Linked DNA regions of Homo sapiens: region 2 is linked to region 1. The links are contacts of gene promoters, found by promoter capture Hi-C in human tissues and cell types (Jung and others, 2019). All regions are on one chromosome and are shown on one strand. The core of a region is centred on a gene start or on the middle of the fragment in contact, and the rest is flanking DNA. Distances in the headings are between cores, read along the strand shown.

Region 1 (5,593 bases), core at 192-2,691:
CCTCACCCAGCCGCTGAAGAATGAGCAGCTCACTCCACTCCTTGATATGGATGTAGCACCGTCACTCTCTGAGAACATCTTGAGTTCCTCAGAGAAGGGTCCCAGACCAGGGATCCAGACAGTAATCCTCTCCTGATTCCCAGTGCTAGTAGCTTAGTTCTGAGGCCTGCTTTTGTGAATTTGTTTCATACCTCCTCATGGTTCTTCTTCAAGCAGATCAGCTCCTCCCTCAGGGACTCCACCTGGGACTCCAGGTCAGACTTGCAGAGGGTCAGCTCATCCAGGATCCTGCGTATGCTGTTGATGTCCGACTCCACCAACAGCCTCAGGGACTGCTCCGTCTGGTACCTGCACGTGTCGGAGTGGGAGGATAAGTCAGGAAAGAAAACCACCTTCCCCTCTCATGTGTTGTTTGGGTAGAATTGGCCTGAATCTTCTTGAACTTACAGTTTTCTGCCTCTTCTCTTCCATATGCTTCAGTCAAGCTGTCCATGGATAGGCTGAAGAGGTTCCCTGACTCACCTAACACCACGAGGAGCCCACAGGCACACATGAGATGAAGTCTCTCACTGTGTTCTCGGTTTTGTTAGCTAATATACCACCAAATCAATTCCCAAAGAACAATTCATTTCAATCTCTGAATTTTGTGGTTTAAGAAACACTTCCAAAAAAAACCAGTATAGACCAAAGAGCAGGCAGCACATGAGTCTAGTTCCCTATTTGAAACTAATTTTACATAACCAGCCCTAGGAGGAGAAATAGAGAGAAATGGCTTTCTCCTCTCTTCCAGGCAATAGTAGGTCCCTAGGGCCATGAAAGAACCATAGGGACCTTGAAGTTCAACATACTTGCTTCTGAAGTCGTCAGAGGCCAGCTTGGCATTGTCAATGTTCACCACCAGCCTGGCATTCTCAGCCTTGGCACACAGAATCTGAAAAGAAATTTCTCTCATGAGGTACACTTGAACTTGAAAATGTCTTACTGTTCAAAGAGAGCCAGCTGCTGCTGGCCCCCCATATGGCCAACCCCCTCACCTTCTGCTGGAGCTCCTCAATGGTCTTGAAGTAGGACTGGTAGCTGGGGCACAGCAAGGGCTCCTGCTGCTGGGACCGCTCCTGGATGAGTTTCTCCAGCTCCGCGTTGTCCCGCTCCAGCTGACGCACCTTCTCCAGGTAGCTGGCCAGGCGGTCGTTCAGGAACTGCATAGTCTCCTTCTCGCTGCCATTGAAGGAGCCCTCACAGAACCAGTTGCAGTTGCTCACATTGGCGGGGATGTTGCAGGCCCCAGGCAGGGTGTAGCCGTGGCAGCTGGGGGGCACGCAGGGCCGGGAGGAGCAGCTGGTGCGGCAGCCCAGGCTGGGCAGGCAACAACTGTAAGACATGGTGCTGGAACAGGTAATGGAAAAGCAGGTAAGCTGCTGGAGGTGGATGTGGGCAGGTTTGAGTCTCTCCTTCCTCTGCAGTCCTTTTATACCATTAATTGTGGGTGGGGGCTTGGCATACAGCATAGTTTCCTTTCCTAATGCTTCAGCTAATTTTTCTCCAAAATATGCTAGTTAGATGCTTCTAAAGAGTCCCCCCTCAACCCATAAAATTATTCCATTCAGCTTATGTCACACCAGGCTCTTCCTGGGTGCTAGTGGTTGGTGAAATCAGAGTTTCATCAGATGGCTTCATAGGAGATAGAATCATCACAGCCCCAAAAGGCTGTCTGCATTACTCAGAGGGGAGGACAGCCAGGGACATGGGGTGGAGTTGTTTGGGAATCAGGGATTCCTCACCCAGGAGTTTCCGCCACTGTTCTTTCTCCCCAGAGAGAGAGCTCTGAGAGAGAGCTTTGAGAGTTACTCTTCCAAGTAGCTCTTTCCTCCCACATTCATCCATGTTTCAGCATTCAATTTGTTTTTATAGCAGAAACTCAACCTGTATTCGCCGAAATGATCCTGAGCCTTACTATTCGTTGGGGTTTAGGGAACTTGCCAACACATGGAGCAACTGAAAACAATGGCATGTTCATGGTTGAGAAATGAGAAAGTAAAATGGAAACCAATGGAATGGATGGGAGTATACCTAAAAGAGGGCATCTGCAAATGGCAGCCCACACGTCAAGTTTACCCTGCTGAATTTTTGTAAATAAAGTTTTTGTTTGTTTGTTTTCTGTTTTTTTTTTTTTGAGACAGAGTCTCACTCTGTCGCCCAGGCTGGAGTGCAGTGGCACGATCTCGGCTCACTGCAACCTCCACCTCCCGGGTTCAAGCAATTATCTGCCTCAGCCCCCCGAGTAGCTGGGATTACAGGTGCCCGCCACCACACCCGGCTAATTTTTGTGTTTTTAGCAGAAATGGGGTTTCACCATGTTGGCCAGGCTGCTCTTGAACTCCTGAACTCGTGATCCGCCCGCCTCGGCCTCCCAAAGTGCTGGGATTACAGGCGTGAGCCAATGCGTCCGGCAGTAAATAAAGTTTTAATGGAACACAGCCATGCCCATTTGTTTAGCTATTGTATATGGCTGCTTTTGTGCTACAGTGGCAGAGTTGTGTAGTTGTGACAGAGACTATAGTGTCCACAAAGCCCTAAAATTAAAAAATTTGCCAACTTGTACTAAAGCAACAGCCTCTCTAAAGATGAGCAAGAGTAGAAATATCTAGAAGAAAAAATATGCTGGAAACAGTCTGGAGCAGTGAGAGTTCAGATGGCAGCACTGAAGCATGAATATGAAGCATAATACTGCAGACTCACCAAGAAACGAAAATTGGAGCAAGGGTGCTCAGAGGTATCTTTGTATCCATGGTGGCTTTTTCTCAAATTCTCTGGAAATTTCTATCATCTTATTTCTAGACTTGTTCCTCTTTCTAGAGTATTAACTCTCCTAGAGGTATGACTATGCCAGCCTGAGATGCTTCCAGGACAAGCCACAGTGCCCATGAGAATGCAGATTTACTCTGTTGTCCCTACAAGTAGACACTGTCTCTGATAAGTGTGCTTCTATCACCTCTGGGATCCAGTTACCCTTTGACTCTTGCATAACCTAGGGAGCCTCTCTATTGCCCAATAATCACTCTTCACAGAATAGCCTTCCCTACCTCACTTCTTTTCCCTGTCACTCTACCTTGCCTTTGTTCCGCAGGGAAACAAAGTCATGTTTCAGAAAGAAGTCCCAAAAGATTATTTGTGGAACACAATACAAATCATTTAAAGAAGGCTGCATCTGAATTTCAAAAGCAGCATGAGAGGAGCAGAAAAGCACATCTTCGATTTTATTTATTTGAGTGTTTCCTCTTTTTTTCTTAGTCTATCTAGAGGTTTGTAAATTTTCTGTGTCTTTCAAAAAAACTCTGTTTCATTGATTTTTTGCTATTGTTTTTCTAGTCTCTATTTTTATTTATTTCTGCTCTAAGTTTTATCGTAAGTATCATAATAAAATTTAGAGCAAAAAGTGTTATTATATCCTTCCTGCTGCTAACTTTGAGCTTAGTTTGTTCTTTATCTTTTTTAATTTTTTAATTTTTGTAGGTACATGGTAGGCGTGTGTGTATGTTTAGATATAGGTTTATGTATATACATATATAAAACTTTCCTCTTAGTACTGCTTTTGCTGCATCCCATAAATTTTGATACGTTGTGTTCTCATTTTCATTTGTCTCAAGATATTTTCTAATTTCCTTTTTGATTTCTTCTTTGACCCATTGATTATTTAAATGTTTTTTAATTTCTACATATTTGTGTATTTTTCAGTTTTTTTCTTATTTCCGTTCTAGTTTTCTAGTTTCATTCCATTGTGGTAGGAAAAGATACTTAGTATGATTTCAATCCTCTTAAATTCGTTAAGACTTGTTTTGTGACCCAACATATGATCTATCCTGGACAATGTTCCGCATGCACTGGAGAATATGCATTCTGCTACCATTGGATAGAACGTGTTATTTGTTAGGTCCATTTGTTCTATAGTATTGCTCAAATCTGTTGTTTCCTTGTTGATTTTCTATCTGAATGTTCTATTCATTATCAAAAGTGAGTTACTGAATTCTTCTATTATTGCATTGTCCATTTCTCCCTTTGGTTCTGTCAATGTTTGTTATATATATATTAGGTGCTCTGATGTTGGGTTCATATATGTGTGCAATTGTTATATCTTCCTGGTGAATTTTTTCATTATTATATAATGTTCTTCTTTGCCTTTTGTGACAATTTTTGACTTAAAGACTATTTTGTCTGATATATAAGTACAGCCATCCTGCTGTCTTTTGGTTACCATTTGTACGGAATATTTTTTTTCCCATTCCTTCACTTTCAGCCTATACATTGTCTTTAAATCTAAAGTCAGTCTCTTCTAGATAGTATGTAGATAGTACTTGTTGGTTTTTTGAAAATCCATTCAGCTACTCCATGTCTTTTGATTGGAGAGTTTAATTCATTTACATTTCAATAAATTATTGATAGGGAAAGACTAATATTGCCATTTTGTTAATTCTTTTGTCTTTCTCAGAGTTCTTTTGTCTCTCTTTTCCTATCTTGCTGTCTTCCTTTGTGTTGCATGGATTTTTGTATCGATATGTTTTTATTCTTTTTTCTTTTTCTTTTGTGTATCTTCTATAGGTATTTTTTTGTGATCATCATAGGGCTTATATGAAACAACTTATAACTGTCTGTTTTCAGCTGATAACTTTCACTGCATACAAAAACTACTCTTTTGCTTCTCCCACACACATCTTTTATGTATTGATGTCATTATTTACATCTTGTTATATTGCATATGCATTAACCTATTTTTATAGTTATAGTTATTTTTAATACTTTTATCTTTTAAATTTTATAGTAGAGGGCCAAGTGTGGTGGCTCACACCTATAATCCCAGCACTTTTGGAGGCTGAGGAGGGCAGATCACCTGAGGTCAGGAGTTCGAGAACATCCTGGCCAACATGGAGAAACTCTGTCTGTACTAAAAATATAAATATTAGCTGGGCGTGGTGGCAGGCACCTATAATCCCAGCTACTCAGGAGGCTGAGACAGGAGAATCGCTTGAACCCGGGAGGCGGAGGTTGCAGTGAGCCAAGATCACACCACTGCATACCAGCCTGGGTGACAAGAGTGAAACTCTGTCTCAAAAATAAATAAATAAATAAATAAATAAATAAATAAATAAATAAATAAATAAATTTTATAGTAGAATTAAAAGAGTGATTTACCTACCACCATTATAGTATTACAGTAGTCTATATTTATCAGTATATTTACATTTACCAGCAAGTTTTATACTTTCACATGCATTTATATTACTGTTTAACATCCTTTTGTTCCAACTTAAAGAACTTCCTTTAACATTTTTTGTAAGGCAGGTCCAGCGATGATGAACTACCTCAGCTTTTGTTTATCTATAAAAGTCTGTATCTCTCCTTCAGTTTTGAAGGATAATTGTACTGGGAATGATATTCTTGGTTGGCAGTTTGTTTGTTGGTTGGTTGGTTTGTTTTCAGCACTTTAAATATATTATCCCATGTCCTTCCGGCCTGCAAAGTTTCTGCTAAGAAATGTATTAATTACCTTATGGAGGTTCCCTTGTACATGATGTCACTTTTCTCTTGCTGCTTTCAA
Region 2 (5,045 bases), core at 1-2,500, 230 kb after region 1:
TCAGGTCCTCAGGCTGCAGCCCTGAGGATTCTGAGGCTCGGGGTCTGCTGGCCCTGCTGGGTGGACCGCCCCACTCTTTGTCCCTTGCCCTCTGCCCCCAGCCCACCATGCTGGCTGCTCACTTGGTCCTGAAGTCATCGGCTGCCAGCCTGGCATTGTCAATCTGCAAAATGGGCTGCGCATTCTCAATGGTGGCCGCAATGATCTGGAGTGGGGATGGAGGACAGGAGCCCTGGTCAGCCAAGGACCTTACTACTTGAGCATGAAAGGCAGAAAGGGGCAAAAGGAACCGCCCCAAATCTGGAAGTCTTCTGGCTGGCAGGGCTGGCATGCCTTCTCCACCAGCTCAGGCTACGTAGGGATGCACTCCATCCCGATCACCCCCTTCCTGGGCCCAAGGCAGGGAAGCTGAACTTGCAGCTGAACCCTTGAAGGAAATAAGAGATTTAGGGTAACAGCCCCAGTCCGGGCACAGAGATACTGAAAAGGGACCCTCTGCTACCACTTCCCTGGGTGATCCTGGCCACTCCCCAAAGGTGCCCAGTCTCCCTGTTTGTAAAGTGTAATTGCTAAAAAGAGGTATCCCAAGGGCCACTGTAGCCCCAGCCTCTCTCAGTGCTCCATACACCAAAGTCACCCACCTTGTTCCTCAGGTCCTCGATGGTCTTGAAGTAGGGACTGTAGTCTTTGATCTCACTGGGCCGCTGCCTCTGGTACCAGTCACGGATCTTCACTTCCAGGTCGGCGTTGGCCTCCTCCAGAGCACGCACCTTGTCCAGGTAGGAGGCCAGGCGGTCATTGAGGTTCTGCATGGTCACCTTCTCACTGCCCACCAGAAGCCCATCACCACCAGCAAAACCACCACCAAAGCCAGCACCCAAGCCACCACCGAAGCCAGCACCAAGGCCACCACCATATCCTCCCCCGAAGCCACTACCAAAGCTGCTGCTGCTGCTGAAGCCACCGCCATAGCCGCCCCCCAGCCCGCAGGCTCCCCCAGAGGAGAAGCGAGAGGAGACAGACAGGCCGCCCCCGTAGGTGCTGGGGGCACGGCAGGACCCTCCGGCCAGGACGGAGGAGATGCGGCTGGAGCCGCCCCCGATGCCGCCTCCGATGCCGCAGGAGCCCTTCATGGAGCTGGAGGAGGTGAACTGGCGGCTGCAGGTGGTCATGGTGCCAAGGAGGGAGGTGAGCGAGTGAGCAGTTGGCTGAAAGAAGGAAAGGTGCTCAGGAAGGCTGAGAGCGTGCTGTGGCTGCCTCCAACCCCAGAGACCTTTATATGCAGCTGGGGAAGGCGGGGCCCTCCTAACTGCTGACTCCAGGTTCCCCTCTGGATTTCATCACTCCCGGTCCCGTCCAACTCCTCACTCTGGATTATTCAGCCCAGGATCAACTCTGCTGTGTGCCGGCTCAGAGTTCCCACCCAGCTTTGGGGGTGTGGGGCCGAGAGAAAAACACAGAAATGCGAGTTCGGTGGTGACTCAGGCTAGGCGGTGGGGAATCAGGCTCCCTTTCCTGGAGCCCTCGGGGCCAGTCGGGCCTTGGCACAGGTGGCTTTGTGGCAACTGCGTCCCCAGGCAGTGAGTCAGCCCTTCAGAAGAACTCCCTGCCCCACAGTGACAGCCTTGGCTGAAAGAGAGCTCAGTGATGCCATCCTGGGCTGTCTTGGGGAGCAGTTGTGGGGATCCCACATGTCCCACTCTGGGCAGGGGCAGAGTTCCTGTCTTCACTCTGCTTGCTGTGTGGCCTGAGGCTCCCCACCTCCCACCTCTGGGCCTGTTTCCCCTCAGTGACCAGGCTGGACTGGGTGACTGCAGAGTCCCTTCTGTTCTAAAAATCCTATAACTCTCTTTCCCCTCTTGGATCTAATTCCAGTTCCAGAGGCTGCCTTGAGCCCCCGGGATCTCCAGAAGTGTGTGCACCATACAAACAGCACTGGCCATGGAGCTAGACAGGCGGCACTGAGTCCCTGCTCTGCCCTTACCAACTGTACAGCACAGGCTGGTCCTATAGCCCCTTGGTCCTCAGTTTTCTCATCTGTAAAAGGGGATGACACACCACTAGCCACAAAGAAACATGCGCGAAGGACCCCACCGGCCCTTCCCCGAGGGCCAGCCCTGCCCCTCAGCCTCCCCATCCTGCCCCTCCAGCCACCTGCTCCTCACACTCACCTCTACACACTGGCACCATCCCGCACCCCTAAGCAGGGCCCTGCGCCCCCCACACTCCCAGCTGAAGAACACCACAGCCCCACACCTAGCTCTGCCACTCCTCTACCGCCCTCTCCTAATCACAGGCACCCCACCTGCAGGCTGGTGGGAGGGAGCCCCATCCTGCCACTACAGCCAGGTATGACCCCTGACCCCACCTGGGCCTCAGAGTCCCCCCCTACCCTGTAGAAACAGGACTAGCCGGGGATCCGTTCCCAGCAGTTCTCTCTCCTGTGTCCACAGATCCCAGGCTAGGCCTGGCAGCTCCATTCATCCAGCTGAGCTGGGGGAGAGCACTGGTTATGGGCCCACTCAGGCATGCATGGAGAGCCCAGTGTGTGCCATACAGTTCTGTGAGCGTAGAGATTCACTCAAAGTCACTCTGCTTTAAGCTGCAGAGCTGCAACTAGAACCCAGAACTCTGGCCCTCTCCAGGCTCCCACCATGCCTGCAGGCGGGGCCAGTATACCCAACTCTCACCCACCTCCCCACGATCACTGGCAGGAGGTCTGCCCATGGTGGGCATGGCCTTGGCCTGAGAGCCTGGTCCAGCACCGAGGACTGGAGGGAGGATGGAGGGGTCTGGGCACCAAGACGGGGCCTCCTCAGGGTGCTGTGGGGCATCCCTCGGTGCTGGCCACTGGCCTTGCTCTGCAGTGTCTCTGTTGAGGTGAGGAGCCCAGAGACAGCCTGCTTCTGCCTGAGCTCCACTGGGGCAGGCAATTCCTTGTCTCAGCAGAACCAGGGTTTTGTCACTGCTACATCTCCCCTGGTCATTCATCCCAGAGGTAAGAGCAGAACGGATGCACATCCCTTCAGAGTCAAACCTGGGAGAGGGAACCTGACACTCCTCACCCCTACCCCAAAAAGGGGCAAAGGGGACCCCGGAATCTTGGACAAAAACCTCAGTGTTCAGGTGTCAGGTTGGGCCTGGAGTTCTGGTCCATCCACAGACCCATCACCCTCAGAACTGAAAATGGTCTTCAAGGTCACCAAAGGCTATTAATACCCCAACTGGAGAGAGCGAAAGCCTTATCCAGGTTAAGCAGCACAAAAGTGAGAGAGCAGAGACTCGAGCCAGCTCTAACTCCCAAGCCAGGATTCACACCGACTCTCGTAGTAGAGTCTCTGAGAACTCTTCACTCTCTGCCCCCATCGTGTGTGCATGCACACACACCCCTTTCTCATTGGCTCACTGCCCCCCACCAAGTTCCCCATTCCAGGAGGTGTCAGGGCGGGATTATACACAAGCCCAGCACTGCAGACCTGGGGATCTGCATGGGCTGAGAAGCTGCAGGAAGTTGCTGACCAACGCGCCAAACTGCTCAGCCAACTCCATAGATCACGCACCTGCTGTGTGTACAGCTCTCGGGGGCTGGGGGTGAAGAGGGAGATGATGACATAGTCTCTGACCTTAGAAGAACTTATCATTTGACCCTGGAGGGAAAACTAATGCTGGAAAATACAGAACCTGGCTAGAAACCCTGGGGTGCTGGGCTTGCCTGCCATGCCCACACCACAGGAGGCAGCTGGGGTAGGCATTGCCCCGCTGAGCCTCAGCAGTAGAGGAGGGGGCTGCCCTCCTGGCCTTGATCCCTGAAAGGGTCCTAGCAGAGAGAGGCACCAGCAGGGCCTCAGAGGATCTGAGTTGACAGAGGAGGAGGAGGAGGCGTTTCCTGTGCACCAGTGATGCACACCTGCCCCAAGGTGGCCAAGAGCCAGGACCACTAAGCCTGGTGAGCACAGAGAAGCCCAGTGGGCATCCTCCAGGCAGAGGATTCCTCCCCACACCCTGCCTCCTTCCTCCCTCCTTCGTACTGCCCATGTCAAGCATGAGGCATGAGATCATGGCATACCTGAGGCAGCCGGGAAACACCATTGGCCAATGCCACGCCTTGACTTGCAGTGATTCTCCAACCAGACAGATCGTCAGAGTCCCCATGAAGATTTGCAGCCCTGCTCCAACTCCCGCATCAGCACCGCTCAGGACAAGCCTGCTGGTGGGGCTGTTTTACAAGCTCCCCAGCCAACTCAGACTGGGAAGGCAGGAGGCAGCTTGGGGGCTAAGGAGGGGGGCAGAGAAGCTGAGGGGAGAGAGGGGGCTGCTGCAGGGCCCCCAGCCTCGGGTGGACAAGCCAGAGCCACAGGCTTCAGGGCAGGAGGAAGGAAAAGTAGAGCCCCACTGAGCCAGGACAGAGCAGCCTAGAATCGGGGCAAGCAGGGGCGAAATCTTGGGCAGGACATTCAGCCTCTCTGAGCCTCAGTTTCCTTCTCTGGGAAATGGGAATAACAGCCTTGCCTCACAGGCATATTAGGGGATTCGAGGCCAAATAAATAAAGCACCTGGAAAAGGCTGGTGGCTAGCGTTATGTTTATGAGCAGGTGTTTATAAAGTGCCTACTATGTGCCTGGCACTGTGCTGGGCACTCAGACTCAAAGAACAAGACAGAGAAGCCCTGGAGACACAGTCTTCTGGGGGAGAAGGTGGTAAAGACAATCCCAATACACTAATGTCAGGCCACGATGGGGTACTGGGGCCCTGCAGAGAAACAGAGAGAGCAGGGTCCCTGGGGGAGAACAAATGTCCAGGCCCAGGCTCTGCCCCTGTGACGGCTCCCGGGATCTGGGGAAATCTGTGAGTGCCAGGCCCACCTCTGGGGCTCCTATCCCCTCCTGCATGTTTGATGCCCCCCTTCTGAAGGTGGGGCTGTCATAGCCCTTCACAATCCAACCACAGATCTGCAGCTTCTGCCTTGATGATGGGGTGAAACATTCTGTGCATTGGGCAGGGTGGGTGTGGACGAACTGTGAGTCCCTCCATGAGTCCCATAGCTG

The links. Contacts are between HindIII fragments. The study calls those that stand out against the background at their distance.
Region 2: a contact is called between the fragment with the promoter of KRT16 here and the fragment with the promoter of KRT34 in region 1, in 3 of the 25 tissues and cell types used here (heart left ventricle, mesendoderm cells and thymus).

The regions. Positions count from the first base shown.
Region 1 is chr17:41,380,865-41,386,457 of GRCh38, forward strand. It overlaps KRT34 (keratin 34), which reads right to left and starts at 1,442. Exons shown (of 7, transcript NM_001386014.1): 1 at 1,035-1,442; 2 at 849-931; 3 at 192-348. The coding sequence starts at 1,382. RefSeq lists an enhancer at 435-1,634. The HindIII fragment of the contact is 11,267 bases long and covers 1-5,593 here.
Region 2 is chr17:41,611,517-41,616,561 of GRCh38, forward strand. It overlaps KRT16 (keratin 16), which reads right to left and starts at 1,251. Exons shown (of 8, transcript NM_005557.4): 1 at 642-1,251; 2 at 123-205. The coding sequence starts at 1,172. RefSeq lists an enhancer at 2,282-2,830. The HindIII fragment of the contact is 12,932 bases long and covers 1-5,045 here.